Regions from separate parts of the Homo sapiens genome. Here regions 2, 3, 4 and 5 are each linked to region 1. The links are contacts of gene promoters, found by promoter capture Hi-C in blood cells and fetal thymus (Javierre and others, 2016). All regions are on one chromosome and are shown on one strand. Each heading gives the region's core, a stretch centred on a gene start or on the middle of the fragment in contact. The rest is flanking DNA. Distances are from core to core; before and after follow the strand shown. Region 1 holds the start of TAX1BP1 (Tax1 binding protein 1). Region 2 has its middle 64 kb from the start of LINC03007. Region 3 has its middle 52 kb from the start of MIR148A. Region 4 overlaps LOC105375199 (a long non-coding RNA gene). Region 5 holds the start of SNX10 (sorting nexin 10).

Region 1 (2,657 bases), core at 99-2,598:
AAAGTCTTTCAATTATGGTTTTTATTAAGCATACTGTTTTTCTGATTTCATTAACTGAAAATTAGTGGTAATTAAAAATGTATTACATATAAATAGGAATGTGATTTAAACAAAGAGTGACATCTCTGACAAATTGTGCTTATAAAATTCACTGCTATGTTTACATTTCTTAAGGGACACAGTTATTTCTACTACCAGAAGGTTGCTACCAGTAACGCAAGTGATAACTTATGTTGATTATTCACACCGTTTTCTTCATCCATAAAATAAGGAGACTGGGACTAAATGGCCTATTAAGGTTCTTCTGAAATTCTATGATCAAGTATAATACCCAGCACAAGACCAAGTTCAAAAATGTCAATACACAGGAAACAAATCAGTCTGTAAATATTGAGAACCTATGTTATCAAAGCTAATGTCTTCTGAAATAACTGGAAGTAAAGATGAAAGTATATGAAAGATAATTTTGAATGTTCTGTATTTAGAATGTGCTTCAACATTTAATGCGATCTAATTTACATATCCTTTCTGGTGCTATTGCAAGGTTTGTCAGGGTTTTACGGCAACAGAAGACTATGATGAATTCGAATGGGACACATTTGCTTCTGTGGAGTTACGATTCAAACTGAATGTCCAATATAGGAAGGCAACATATACAACAAGCAAAAGTGATTTTAGAAATAACAGAACGCGGGAGAAAATTCACACACGGAAAATGATACGGATAACAAAAGCAGGTAACTCACAGAAATGCGGCTAGAAAAGAGGCCTCTGCTGGAGCGAGAGCAAATAGAATCAGAGGGCATTAGAACTGAAAAGCTCCTAGGAGCTTTCAGTGAACAAAACTTCATAGCCAAAAAAGCACACGACTGGGCCAGGAGTTCAGAGACAGTCTTGGTGCTCAGGGGTTTGCAGCCCTAGCCGTGTGGTCACTCCCTTGCTTCTCTGGCTATTTCCTTATCTATAAAATGAGTGGGCTAGTTTAGGCCGACTGAGACGCAGACAGGGATACGGTACTGTCCATGGACCTCTGAGCTGCCCTTTCCACATCGCTGGTGAGTTACTTAAACCTCCTGTGTGTTTCCCCCTTTCGTATGTCAAAATAATAACATAAAATCAGAATGTAAATCCAGACGCATTGTTTTGCTGCGATTAAGTTGAACGAAAATAGCAAGGACGAAGTAAGGAGAGAGCCAGCCTACCCGCGGGATGAGGCGTCCCGCGGCGGAGTGGGCTGGGGGCGTGTCGTCGCGGAGGGGAGCGGCGAACCAGGCAGGAGGCGGAAGAGACCGCCCCGTGGGCGGAAGTGACGCAAGGCCTACTGTCGGCTGGGAGGGGAGGTGTAGCCGGTCTTTGGGGGTAGGCGGTAGTGGCGGAAGAGGTTCGGCGGCTGATGGCGGATCAGGATCGGAAGCCTGCGTAACTTTCTCCCTTGATCCGGGAGTCTTTCCACTGGGTAAGGCGCCTCCCCGGTCCACCCCAGCGCCTTGTGCGGGGCGGCCTCCAGCTGCATCTCTTTTAGGGCTCGTGCTACACCCTTCAGCCCCTGTACTGTAGGGGCCTGGCCGGTCTCGGGAGAGGTCTCTGTGGTGACGAGGCTTTCCTTCCCGAAGACAAACCTTCCTTTCCAGACTGCGATTGTGACGGGGGTGTGGGCGACTCGGATCAGCTGTGGAGTTTTGGAATGGCAACGGGTGGCCGCCCCACGCGGTGGGAGGCCCGTGGGACAGGCCTTCGCGATTTGGGGGAGGCGTGTGGGACGGGGGCCCTTTGGCTGGGGACGAGTGACGCTGGCGACCCCCGAAGGAAAAGCTTCTGGTGTCCAAGGCTAAACTCTGGGGTGACTGTTTTGAGGGCAGTGTGGGTTTTACCGGCGCAGTAAGCTGAGAAAACACGTAGGTCGCGTCCGAGAAGGACGCTGGGGTTTGCCTTTGCGGAGAGAAACCCAGCTGTTTTGGTTTGAGTCGCCGGTGGCGAAGGGGGCGGAGACTCCCTGCGCCGCCTACTTTTGAGGGCCGCGGGCGGAGTTGGCGGTTCTGGCTGATGGCCTGCTTCACCTGGAATCCATTCCCCACCCCGCCCCGTTCGCAAGGTGTGGACTAGTCCCGACCGACTTGCACTCCTGGCTTAGGGAATCTGTGGCTAGAGTTTAGCGTGCGCGCGCGCGCGTACACCTTATTAGTAAAAAATTGAGCTTAGCGTGCGTCTGTGTGGGTGTGTGTACACACCTTATTGGTAAAAGTTTTGTTAGAAAACACTGGCATTTGACTTTAGACATACACAGTGTTAGATTTCCGGTTTCACACAGTGGTTATGAATTGCTATTATGTTAGGCTTTAGATGGGAAAATAAATCTTGATTTTTCAGCTGTCTGCATTCTGCTAATGTTAAAATTTCTACGAGCTGTGCACGAACAATTAATAGTTACAAGTTTGGTGCTCAATTCCTAAAGGATTTAAAGAGATCATTTGAATAGAAACTAAAAGTGGGTCGATCGTCCTCAAAGTGCTTTTCGGGTTTAGGGAAGGAGCTTAGGACAGCCTTTCTCTTTCGTTCTGTTCCTTTCAAGGGTAAACTTGAAGGATTGTTTGATGATGCCGACTTCTAATAAGGTTTTATTTATTTTTCAAACTGATTGTTCAACTTCAAAGAACATT
Region 2 (2,657 bases), core at 50-2,549, 1.9 Mb before region 1:
CGACCCTGCTTCCCAGGCCCCGGGCAGGCGGGCGGGCGAGACACAAAGCAGGCCCCGCGGGCGGTGCTCCGGGTTTCGCGAGGGCGGCGGTGCGCTTGATTGATGGATTCACGGCGTTTAACCCCCGCCGCCTCGCCGGAGGCGGCCGATCCAGCTGCGGCCGAGGGCCTAGGGTGGCCATGGGCCCGGCCCCCGCGTCCTCCGCGCCCCCGCCCCGGCTCGGGAGGGCTGCCCCCCGGGAGTGGAGAAAGGCTGATTTACAGCCGGCCGGCCGCACTCTTGCAAAATCACTGCGGCCGGGGAAACCCACTCCCAGGACTCAGCCCGGAAGAGGCCCTGAAGGGGAGCGGAGACTGGGCGCTGGGGTGGGGGCGGGGGCGCCGAGCCTCAACTTCCCGCGTCTGCTGGAAGCTTGCTCTGAGCGCCGGCTGCGGCGTTTTCCCGCCTTCTGCCCACGTTTTCGCCCGGGAGTGGGTTTCAGGAGAGCTGGGGACAGCGGCATCCCTCGCCCTGGGACCGTTGCCCCTGCGCCCGCCGCCCTGTGCCTGGGCCTTTGCACCCGGAGCGCCCCGCGCCCCAGCGCAGTCGTCCCCACGCGCCGGGATCGCCAAATTCCCACCTGGGGCCCGCCTTTACTGGGGGGCTGCAAAAGAGACTTAGAAGCAGAGATTCGGGAGGGGAGCTGATAGCTCCCGAGTCCTAAGCCACGCCTGGACAGCCCACAGGTCCCATCTCCATTTGTTTAAACACTTTTTGCCCCGTTTTCTGCAGGGCAGAAGACAAATATTAAGAGAGCAAGATTGTGCTTAGAAACTTAAGGTTCTCTTTTAAAAGACTCGTTCCTTCAGGTCTTCCTTCTTACCACCTAAGGGAAAAAAGTACCCCCTAAAATTCTTGCTTTACTTTTAGCAATTCTTACTTCAGTTTTACTATTGATACCCTCCGATCTTTTTCAAGAGGAAAAAAAAGCCAGATAGTGAAATAAAATAAGAAACGTATGGTTTCAACTTGAACTAACGAATCAGAAGTGTTGATTCTAAACTAAAAAGTGTTACTACTTTTTTTGCTTATATGTGCCTGGGTAGGATGAGTTTTCCTACAGCCTGCGAAGTTGGTCACTAGAAACAGGGGCTGGTGAAAATGTGCAGATTCTTGCCCTGCAGACACTAAGGATCTGGTGCTGGGCTAGAAAATTCACCCACAGTTAGGATGTCAGAGGGAGATATAAGTAAACGTCGGCACCCAACTCATTAGTTTCTGGCTAAATAAAAGTCAACCGACAGAGCACAAAACAACAGATCCAATGAATCCACCTTCTTGTAAAATGAGGGCTAATGGCTGTATTCTGAAAGATTTTTTTAGGTAGACTTATTTTTAAAGGCCGGTTGCAATTTTAAAATGCATAATTATAGGGTAGAGTAATCAAAAGTGAGTGTGCAATTATTCTGCTTGTATAAATGGGAGAAGAAGTCATGAAGTTTCCCAGCTAGAGAGCTGTCGACCTGTAAAATGTAAAAATGTACATCTAAAGCTGTGAAACTTCTCACTTGAGTACAGTATTTTCTTCTTTCCTCCCGTCTCCCTCTGCAAATACCGTAAGTTCTTATTCTGACCTTGATGTGGGGACAGCACGAACCCTTCTCTTCCTGATAAACCCAAACAGAAAAGCAGATATAAAAGGAGAGGCAGATGAGAAGTGGAGGTCTACACTTTCCAGGGTTCCACCCTCAAATCCCCCGCCGAGGTTGGCAAAACAAAGATTCTGCCCCCTACTACAGTGACTTGTGAGTGGAAAGAAAGTCTTGCCTATCTGTCATAGGGACCCCAAAATGAATTCCTAAAAAAGCAACGCTGCTCTAACAGCAACTGGATCGGAAAGCAGAGAAAGCAGAGATGCAACCTCGGCCCTGTGGCTCCGGCCAGGCTCTGCTCCAGTGAGACCACTCGCTGGGAAACTGAGTTTCCCCCTCGATTTCAGTTTAGTCCCTAAAAAGTTCGCCCGGCCCTGCAAACACCACGCTCAGAAACGCAGCGGCCTCTTACTCTTACCTTTTTAAAGCGTGCTTAAGGTGCTTACTTCGCTTAAGGAAATATTTTTGCAAACACTTTCACTGGATGAATATTTTACTCGCAAACTTTCCTGGGCAAAATCTCCGGAGGAAGTTTCACATTAAAGCAACAACCAACAAAGCTTATTTTTGTAATATGTGGCTCTCTAACAGTGCCAGTATGTTCTCACTTCATTTAGTTATAAAATATAAAAGTGTTTGGTTTTCAATTTTTCTAAATTACTTGCAGGGTACAAGGTGGGGGTGGAGATGGTGAGAAGGGGATCCTTATGCCATCTGGCGGTGCCATGTGGAACTTCGCTGAAGAAGCTAAATTTACTGACCATCTGTGCCTAGAGCGGGTTTCTCCAAGGAAAGGCTCTGTAAATCTCGTCCTTTTGAAATCTAGGGGAAAACAGCCTCCTTCACTGAGGATTAATTTAAAGAAAGGGGGAAATAGGAAAATTCCATGCGTTGGAAGTCCATTTAGATTTCTACATGAACCATCATATATGTGCACTACATAATTCTTATTTTTTTATTTTTAAAAAAGGGATAATTTATATTCCAGTGACAAGTTTGGGAAAGGCCAAGGCAAGCAATTGAGTT
Region 3 (2,657 bases), core at 59-2,558, 1.8 Mb before region 1:
CATTAGCTTCTCTGCTAATTGGAAACGTTGGGCATGGGAGCATACATATTCCAGTGGTGTTGAAGAAGGTTGCTTCCAGAATTGATCTAGCTATATTACAATTCGGGCACCATCAAAGAACCATTGGGTATTTTTCATGGCAAGCCTGCCATAAACTCACCCAGTGAGAACTTCTCAGGGCTTTCATTCTCCTGGCGTAAGTGGGTTTTTTCCAAAGCAGACCAACAGCTCTCACTTGAGAACTCAAGTTTTCCAGCTCTCATTTCCCCAGTCTGCCCCAAGCGAGTCAAACAGTGTCAGTACTGTCTCCCGCAGCACCTTGAGGGCTGGTGCCTGTGTTTTCCCGAAATGAGGGTAGACGTGGTTCATGCAGACTGGAGGAGAGTCCCTGAACTCACAAAATGTCTCCTCGGCCTTAATGCTTTCCAAGTTGGGAGATTTATGTTGCAACCTTGAGAAGGGCAGAGTAAATACAGAGCCTGCCAGCTATTTGTTTTCCTGTTGATGAATTCCCCAAATTCAGACTGGAAGCCCTCCAAGAACTGAAGTCTCTTCAAAAGGCAAAGTGTTAACCCTGAATCCTTCAGCTGCTTTTGCCACGTCTTTCTCCCCCACCCAGAAAGCTCCAAAGTATCTCTGAGGTTGTGTTCGCTGTATATGAAGCTCTCCGATGACTCTTCCTTTTTATCACACAAAACAAGCCAGGGCCAAAGACCACGGAGGAAGAAACCAGCTTACCACATGGTGCAGGGATCTTGCAAGAGCTTCTCCTAGTGAGGCTCCCTAGAGCCTCACTCCTACACATTCAGTATAGCTTTCTTTAGTCATGAAAGTGATTCCACTACCTAGTCAAACTTTGCTAGCTTGAAATATTTGCCACATGCTCTATTGCAATTGTGGTTTTCATCTTTAAATCATACATCCTTAATCTTCTCCTTGGAAATGTAACAAATTAGCACCATATTTTTGTTTGTTAGTTTTTCCTGAACATGAACCATACAGTTTATGAACCAATCTAGATAAAATGACCATTTTTAATCCCCAAATCACTCTTTATTTTTAGTGTTTAGTCTCACTGGCTGCTTTTATAATTTAAAAATTTTTAAATATAATCTTTTTTTCTGATTATAAAATTACATCTTATTTATAGAAAACATGGGAAATGGGTATTAAATGTAAAAAATTGTATTTGTAATCTCATTAGTCACAGTTAGGCCTTAACATTTTGGTATACATCTTGTTTCTCTGCTAGTTATTCTATCTGGATGATGACTTTTTTCATTTGATCTTATATAATAAATATTTTCACATTATTTCCATAATTTTTTTTTTTTTAAGACAGGGTCTCATTCTGTCACCCAGGCTAGAGTGCTGTGGCATGATCATGGCTCACTACACCCTTGAGGTGATCCTCTCACCTCAGCCTGCTGAGTAGCTGAGACCACAGGTGTGCACCAACATGCCAGCTAATTTTTGTATTATTTGGTAGAGACAGGGTTTTGCCATGTTGCCCAGGTTGGTCTCAAACTCCTGGGCTCAAGCAATCCACCCACCTCAGCCTCCCAAAGTGCTGGGATTACAGGCATGAGCCACTGCACCCAGAACCACAATGTTCTTAACTAACCTTTTATTGTTGGAATTATAAGTAGCATTCCAGTAAACATATTTCTATGTAAACCTTCGGCTAATATCACATTAATTTCTTAGGATAGATTCCTTTAAGTAGAATTACTGGGTCAAAGTGTAGAAACAGTATTAAGGTTCTCAATACATTTTGCCAAATTGCTTTTTCCAAAGGATGCATATCAGTTTGTGCTCCCACCACAGTGAGTGAGACTGGCTGGCTTGCTGTGCCCTCATCCACATCCAGGATAGCTGTGTTTGCCTCTGGGCCTACACAATAGACACCTCCACTGAAACAGGTGGTGTGGCCCAGGTTTGGGAAGGGCTTAGACTGGGAGTCAGGAGACCTGGCCTTGAATTTGGATTCTCCTATTATGTAGCTCTGTGACATCGCAGAAAACCCTTAGCAGCAAGAATAAAAATTGGGAACAGACTACCAAAATAAGGTAATGAACGTGAAAATGCTCTGTAAATGCAAAATATGAGGACTTATTATGGCAAGGCACCTATCTGTTGCTACTGGTACCTAAATTTCCGTGCTAAAATTAGAAACTGGGTTTATAATGTAAATTATAAACAAAAAATAAAATTTTATGGAAATATTGACTTAAGGTTTCCTTCTTAAATATAAGAGATAGGTGACTTTCTTATTAGCATACTTTCTCCCATCTCTTTCTGAGCTTACCCCCAAAAAATTCTGCAGCATCTGAATCCCAGGTGAGCCTGCCTAACTTTAATATGTGAAATAAAGTTGTATATTGTCTTGGATTATGCAAACTAAGCTGGTAATGAAAAGTGTTTTTTTTTTTTTTATTTTTATGTTTTAGAGACAGGGTCTTGCTCTGTCACTCAGGCTGGAGTGCAGCTGCATGATCATGACTCACTGCAGCCTCAACCTCCCGGGCTAACGTCATCCTTCTGCCTCAGCCTCCCGAATAGCTGGGATTACAGGCATGCACCACAAAATCTGGCTAATCTTTTATTTTTTGTAGAGACAGGATCTTATTATGTTGCCCAGGCTGGTCGACAACTCC
Region 4 (2,657 bases), core at 42-2,541, 1.8 Mb before region 1:
TACCATGTTGGGCTAAAGTCAAGGTGTCAGCAGGGGTGCATTCCTTTCTGGAGTACCAAAAGGAGAAATCCATTTTTTGGTTTTTCAGTTTCTAAAGGTTTCCCGCATTCCTTGGCTCTGGCCTCCTCCTCCACCTTCAAAGCCAGCAAAGGCTGGTTGAATCATTCTCACATCGCATCACTCTCATGCCGCCTCTTGTGTCTCCCTCTTCCTTTCTGATTGCGTTGGGCCTACCTGGGTAATCTAGGATATTCTTGCTATTTCAGGATCAGCCAATTACCAACCTTAATTTTGTCTGCTATCTTAATTCTCCTTTGCCATGTAACATAACGCATTCACAGGTTCCTGGGATTAGTATGTGGACATTTCAGGGAGGCTGTCATTCTGCCTGCCACACTGCCTATCACTGATGGTGATAATCTACATCATAGGGTTGTGCAGAAGATTAAAGCATCCACACATGAAGAGTGTTTACAAAATGCCTAGCATTTTGTAAGAAGCACTCCATAATAACTAGCACAGAGTAAGCATTTCATAATAATGATCCGTTATAGTTATTATCTAGAAAGGAAATACAAAACAGAGAATAGTTGCATCTGAAGGTGGGATTAAAACTGATTTTTATTTTCCTCATTTTGCTAATTTTTTTTCTTTTTCTACCATGAACGTGTATTATTACTTGGGTACTTTAAAAATTTTAAATATAAATGAGAAAAAACCATTAAAGGAGGTTGTCACATAGGAGAATAATTTAATTTGGGGTTAGAAGGCCCAGGTGCTCACCTCAGCAATGGTACAAACACAAATTGTGATACTGGGCGAGTTACTTTACCTCCGTGCACTTCAGTTTTCCTCCTCAGTAACATGAGAGAGATGAACTATGTATTTCAAATGGTCCTTCCAGTTCTAAATGCTCTGCACCTAACATGTTAAAAATCAACAGATTGATAAATGGATTTTAAAAACCCATGCTGCTTAGTACATAAAGAATCCCAGCTGCTTTGCCTATGGAGTAGCCATTTTTTTATTCCTTTACTTTCTTAATAAACTTGCTTTCACTTAAAAAAAAAAAAAAGAACTCCACAAAATCAGTAAGAAAAAAGACAGCGCTATAGAAAAAAAAGAGTGGAAAAGGCATAAACAAGCATTGCACAGAAAAAGAAAAGCAAATGGCAAATAAGCTTAGGTAAAGATGTTAAGCCTCATTAGAAACAAGGAAATGTAATTTAAGACTTCAGTGAGATATCATTTTATACCCACTAGGTTGGCAAAAATTCACAAGCCTGACAACATCAATAGATGGAGATGATGTAAATCAGTGGCATTTGGGGTCTTTTCACACAACGGATTATTATACAGCACTGAAAATGAATGAACTACAGCTCCTCACAAAGCTATGGATGAAGCTTGGAAACATAATGTTGAGCAAAAAAAAAAGAAGATGGAAAAAAGCAAGTCCCAGGAGACTAAGATATAACGATGCCATTTTTATAAAGCTCAAACACAGCCAAACAATATAATTTTAAGAAATTTATAAAGTGATAAAAAGCAAGAAAATGATAAATAGAAAATTCGGGTTAGTGGTTGCTGGTAGGACGTGGAGGGAAGGAGGGTGAGAAGGCAGCCCAAAGGTGGATGCAATTGGCAATGTTCCTGTTCTTAAATTGGACATAACACTTAGGCTAGTAAGTGTTCAGTATATTATGTTTTGTGATTTGCATATGTGAGAGATATATATATTTTATATGTACCAAATATTAGATTTAAATTTTTTTTTAAGAATTCTGTTTAGGGGCTTCTGTATTCTAATCTAAGATGCTTTACTTCTTGGAGTTGAGGCTAATCACTAAGTTTCCCTTCAAACTCATAAAAGCCAACTCTTTATTGGCAATTTGCTATTTGTAATCCCTCTAGTTAAACAGACTTCATAACAGCCACCCACATCTGGGCTTGTGCAAAAAATGTTTTCAGTTTATGCTCCAAATGAGCCTCATTTTCTCTGAGAACTACACTGCACTCCCAGAGTTGGGGGGTATACCAGCAGGAGCAGTACCTCCAAAAGTCTCTTGGAGCGTGCCCTCTGTGTGCCTCCGGAGCCCTTCCTTCATCTTGCCTGCAGCTAGCCATTTGGGCAGCTTCTGCAGCTAGGGCTGAGCTATACAGTTCATAAATATCCCACTTAGCCCATGTGAAATTGTCTCTACTCTGATTGATTACAGTTTTGATTTTAATGCTGAAAAATCACATTCTGTGTGCTCCTGACTTGTCTTCTGTTGTTTTATAAGGTTTGTCCATCTGGCCAAGACATCATCTAGAGTGGCTTGGTCTCACAGTCCTGCAACAATCTGGCATTAGTGTTATTTTTGACTTTGATTCCATCTTTGATTCCATAGTCTCCCAAAGAATAAGCCAGTTTTGTTTGATGTAGTTTTCTACTTCCTTGACTCTAAACGCAGCATTTGGAAGTAATTATCAGAACTCACAGGTACTTTAAATATCATTGTTTCCACTGAAAGGACTGGCTTACATAGGGTTCACCAAATGAAGCGGATGCTTAGCACATGGAGGAGGGATGAAGGTGGTCTTAGGGCAGCAGTAATATTTGGCACCCAAACATTGCCGCTTACATCCACCTTTGGATGTTGGATGCTACAGAC
Region 5 (2,657 bases), core at 98-2,597, 1.4 Mb before region 1:
AGCCACCGCGCCCGGCCCAAGTTACCAGTCTTAATAGGGTCAAAATTCTAACAGATATTCAAATGACTTTCAGTAGACTCTCCAAGGGTTTGTTGCTGCTTTGTCTACAGCTGTAAAGTCATGCTCTTGACAATAAGTTCAGAAAGATTTTAATTTTACAGAATCTCTTAGGATCTTAGATACATGCTGCATTTTGTTTTCTACTCAATGTTTTTCTTTGCGGAGCATAGGGACAAGAATATAAAAAATACACTTTAATTTGATTTTCTTTCTTTTTTTTTTGAGACAGAATCTTGCTCTGTCGCCCAGGCTGGAGTGCAATGGCATGATCTCGGCTCACTGCAACCTCTGCCTCCCGGGTTCAAGCTATTCTCCTGCCTCAGCCTCCCGAGTAGCTGGGATTACAGGCGCGCGCCACCACGCCCAGCTAAGTTTTTGTATTTTTAGTAGAGACGGCATTTCACCATGTCAGCCAGGATGGTCTCCATCTCCTGACCTTGTAATCCACCCGCCTCGGCCTCCCAGAGTGCTGGGATTACAAGCGTGAGCCACCACACCAGCTTAATTTGATTTTCAAAAGTGATCATGGTTGCATTCACTTGTGTGTCATGACTTGGGTGCAATTTTAGGAAATTAAATACCAGTGATTGAGGGTTCAGCAATACAACTTCAAGATCCAAGATGTTAAGACACAACATTGTATATTTATACGTTTTGTTAGGGAGTTAATGTAGGTGTGGTGAACAGATGCGTTTTCAGGTGGGCCTGGAATGGTCCCTGGAGGATGATCAGCGACAAGCTGTATCTAATGGGAAAATTCATGCTTGAAAAATGAAATATTAGGCTATGCTTATTATTCTGTGTCATTCAGTCACTTATTAGCAGTTTAAGTGATGATTGTGGTTTCCCATGCAAACAGGTGTGGGGACCCAGCCTCAGGTGCCATTTGGGAAATGCTTTCCTCAGTCAGGTCCCTTGGCAGATCTCATTAGCTTTCCCCCCAAATGTTTTATTGAGACATTTCAAACATAGACAAAAACTGAAATAATTTTATATAAACACCATAGCCCACCACCTAGATGCTATGAACATTCTGCCATTCTTGTTTATCACGTTATTTATCCGTCCTCCTCCCCATCGGCAATCCTCCCCATAACTGTGGGGTCAGGGTTAGGAAGCTTAAGGTGACTCAGGTGGCGAATTCCGAAGGGTGCCGCTGGAGCACCTCCAGCCTCAACGTCCGGACTAATGGGGGCATTTCCTCCCTAACTCAATTTCAGGAAGCAGGAGGCTAGCTCTGCAGGGTGGGGGCGCACCTGGGCTGGGCTGCGCGGAGGCGGCGGAAGCACTAGGCGCGGCGCCCACAGGCGGACGGCTGGCGCTGAGCGCGGGCGCGGGGCCGCTACGTGCGCGGGGAGCGCGGGGAGCGCGGGGAGCGCGGGGCTGCGCTCGTGTGCGCTCCTGGGCGCTCGCCGCCGCCGCTGCCGCCGCGCGCCTTTGAGTCAGCAAACTCCGCGGCCCGCAAGCCCGGCTCGGCCCGGCCCTGCTCTGTTCTGCCCGGAGGAGCCGCCCGTAAGTGACAAGAGACCCGCTGAGGGGGCCTCCCCTGCACCGCCCAGGTGGGGACGGCGGCCCTTCTTTCCAGAGGCGCGGGCCCTTCCCGCTGTTCCCAGGTGCCCGCACCCTTGCGGGCTGGAAAGAGGTTTGGGTCCCTTGGGCTTGGAGCAGAGGAGCCGCCTCCTTTTCAGCCGAGGTGTGCCGGGCAGGGAGAAATGATCAGCGCGGTAGAGCGGGGAGATGGAGCGCGTCGATCCAGGGATTCTTGGCTAAAAAGACACCCCGGGGAGAGGGTGGGGCAGAGGTGGATTCTAGATTACGGAAGAAGTGCTGTGGCACCTTACACCAGGCCGGGTAGAAGGGGGTGGGGAGGTGGTTTTTAAAATTTATTTATTTATTTTTTTATTCATTCATTAACGGGTAGCCTTGAGTTGAGGAATTGGGAGGGGTAGGCAGGTTTATTCGTGGGATTGTGGGATTGAGGGAGAAGGCCCAGGGGAAAATCCATATAATTGACTGATTATCAGATTTGGTGACCAGGAAAGCAACAGCCTGTTTTTCAGTTCCGATGCATCATACTTTTCTCAAATTACACGGATTATTGAGGGGGATCGTCACGGAATGGGGAGCAACATGTCCTGCTGAAAGGAAGGGCTTCTATCTCTACAAGACACGTTAAAAATGATGGTATCAGAAAATTAGAACGGGGAGGAGGCTTGCACATGATCTCCATCAAACCTTTCATTTTACAGACAGGGAGGCTAAGGCCGAGGGACGCTGAGTGTTGGGACCAGGATCATTCAGCCAGATGGGAGCAGAACCAGGCCTACAACCTGGCAGGCTTCTGACTTCCACCCCGGAGTTATGTCCACCTCTGGGGCCTGGGAACTGGGTTTGGATTGCATAAGCTCCCCCTCCTCTCCCAGGAGGGGGCTGGGCTGGAGGCTGAGGCCTTCGCCAGGAAGAAGCAGGGACTGCTTGGATAGTTGACCAGCTTCTGCAGGGGCTCCTCAGTGAGAGAATGGAGGTGAGGTCAGGGACTCCTGCCTTGCCTCTGCCATCACTTCCAGTGATGCCTATTCCTAAGGTAGGTACATAGC

The links. The method cuts DNA at HindIII sites, captures the fragments that hold promoters and counts their contacts. A CHiCAGO score of 5 or more calls a contact.
Region 2: a fragment that was not itself captured here is called in contact with the fragment with the promoter of TAX1BP1 in region 1 in 1 of 17 cell types (fetal thymus); the score reaches 6.4 in fetal thymus.
Region 3: a fragment that was not itself captured here is called in contact with the fragment with the promoter of TAX1BP1 in region 1 in 1 of 17 cell types (fetal thymus); the score reaches 5.0 in fetal thymus.
Region 4: a fragment that was not itself captured here is called in contact with the fragment with the promoter of TAX1BP1 in region 1 in 1 of 17 cell types (fetal thymus); the score reaches 7.0 in fetal thymus.
Region 5: the fragment with the promoter of SNX10 here is called in contact with the fragment with the promoter of TAX1BP1 in region 1 in 1 of 17 cell types (neutrophils); the score reaches 6.6 in neutrophils.

Annotation. Positions count from the first base shown.
Region 1 is chr7:27,738,814-27,741,470 of GRCh38, forward strand. It overlaps TAX1BP1 (Tax1 binding protein 1), which reads left to right and starts at 1,349. Exons shown (of 17, transcript NM_006024.7): 1 at 1,349-1,456. TAX1BP1-AS1 (TAX1BP1 antisense RNA 1) reads right to left here and starts at 1,862. Exons shown (of 2, transcript NR_187572.1): 1 at 1,203-1,862. RefSeq lists enhancers at 1,284-2,146, 1,363-1,632, 2,147-2,657 and a silencer at 1,800-2,032. The HindIII fragment of the contact is 7,568 bases long and covers 1-1,810 here.
Region 2 is chr7:25,852,389-25,855,045 of GRCh38, forward strand. No RefSeq gene overlaps it. Among named protein-coding and RNA genes, the nearest start is that of LINC03007, 64 kb to the left of the region's middle. The HindIII fragment of the contact is 1,780 bases long and covers 410-2,189 here.
Region 3 is chr7:25,896,962-25,899,618 of GRCh38, forward strand. No RefSeq gene overlaps it. Among named protein-coding and RNA genes, the nearest start is that of MIR148A, 52 kb to the right of the region's middle. The HindIII fragment of the contact is 3,378 bases long and covers 1-2,657 here.
Region 4 is chr7:25,954,579-25,957,235 of GRCh38, forward strand. All of the region lies in intron 6 of LOC105375199 (a long non-coding RNA gene), which reads right to left. Among named protein-coding and RNA genes, the nearest start is that of MIR148A, 5.9 kb to the left of the region's middle. The HindIII fragment of the contact is 225 bases long and covers 1,180-1,404 here.
Region 5 is chr7:26,290,515-26,293,171 of GRCh38, forward strand. SNX10 (sorting nexin 10) reads left to right here and starts at 1,348. Exons shown (of 7, transcript NM_013322.3): 1 at 1,348-1,572. RefSeq lists silencers at 1,372-1,611, 1,762-1,841. The HindIII fragment of the contact is 4,940 bases long and covers 1,177-2,657 here.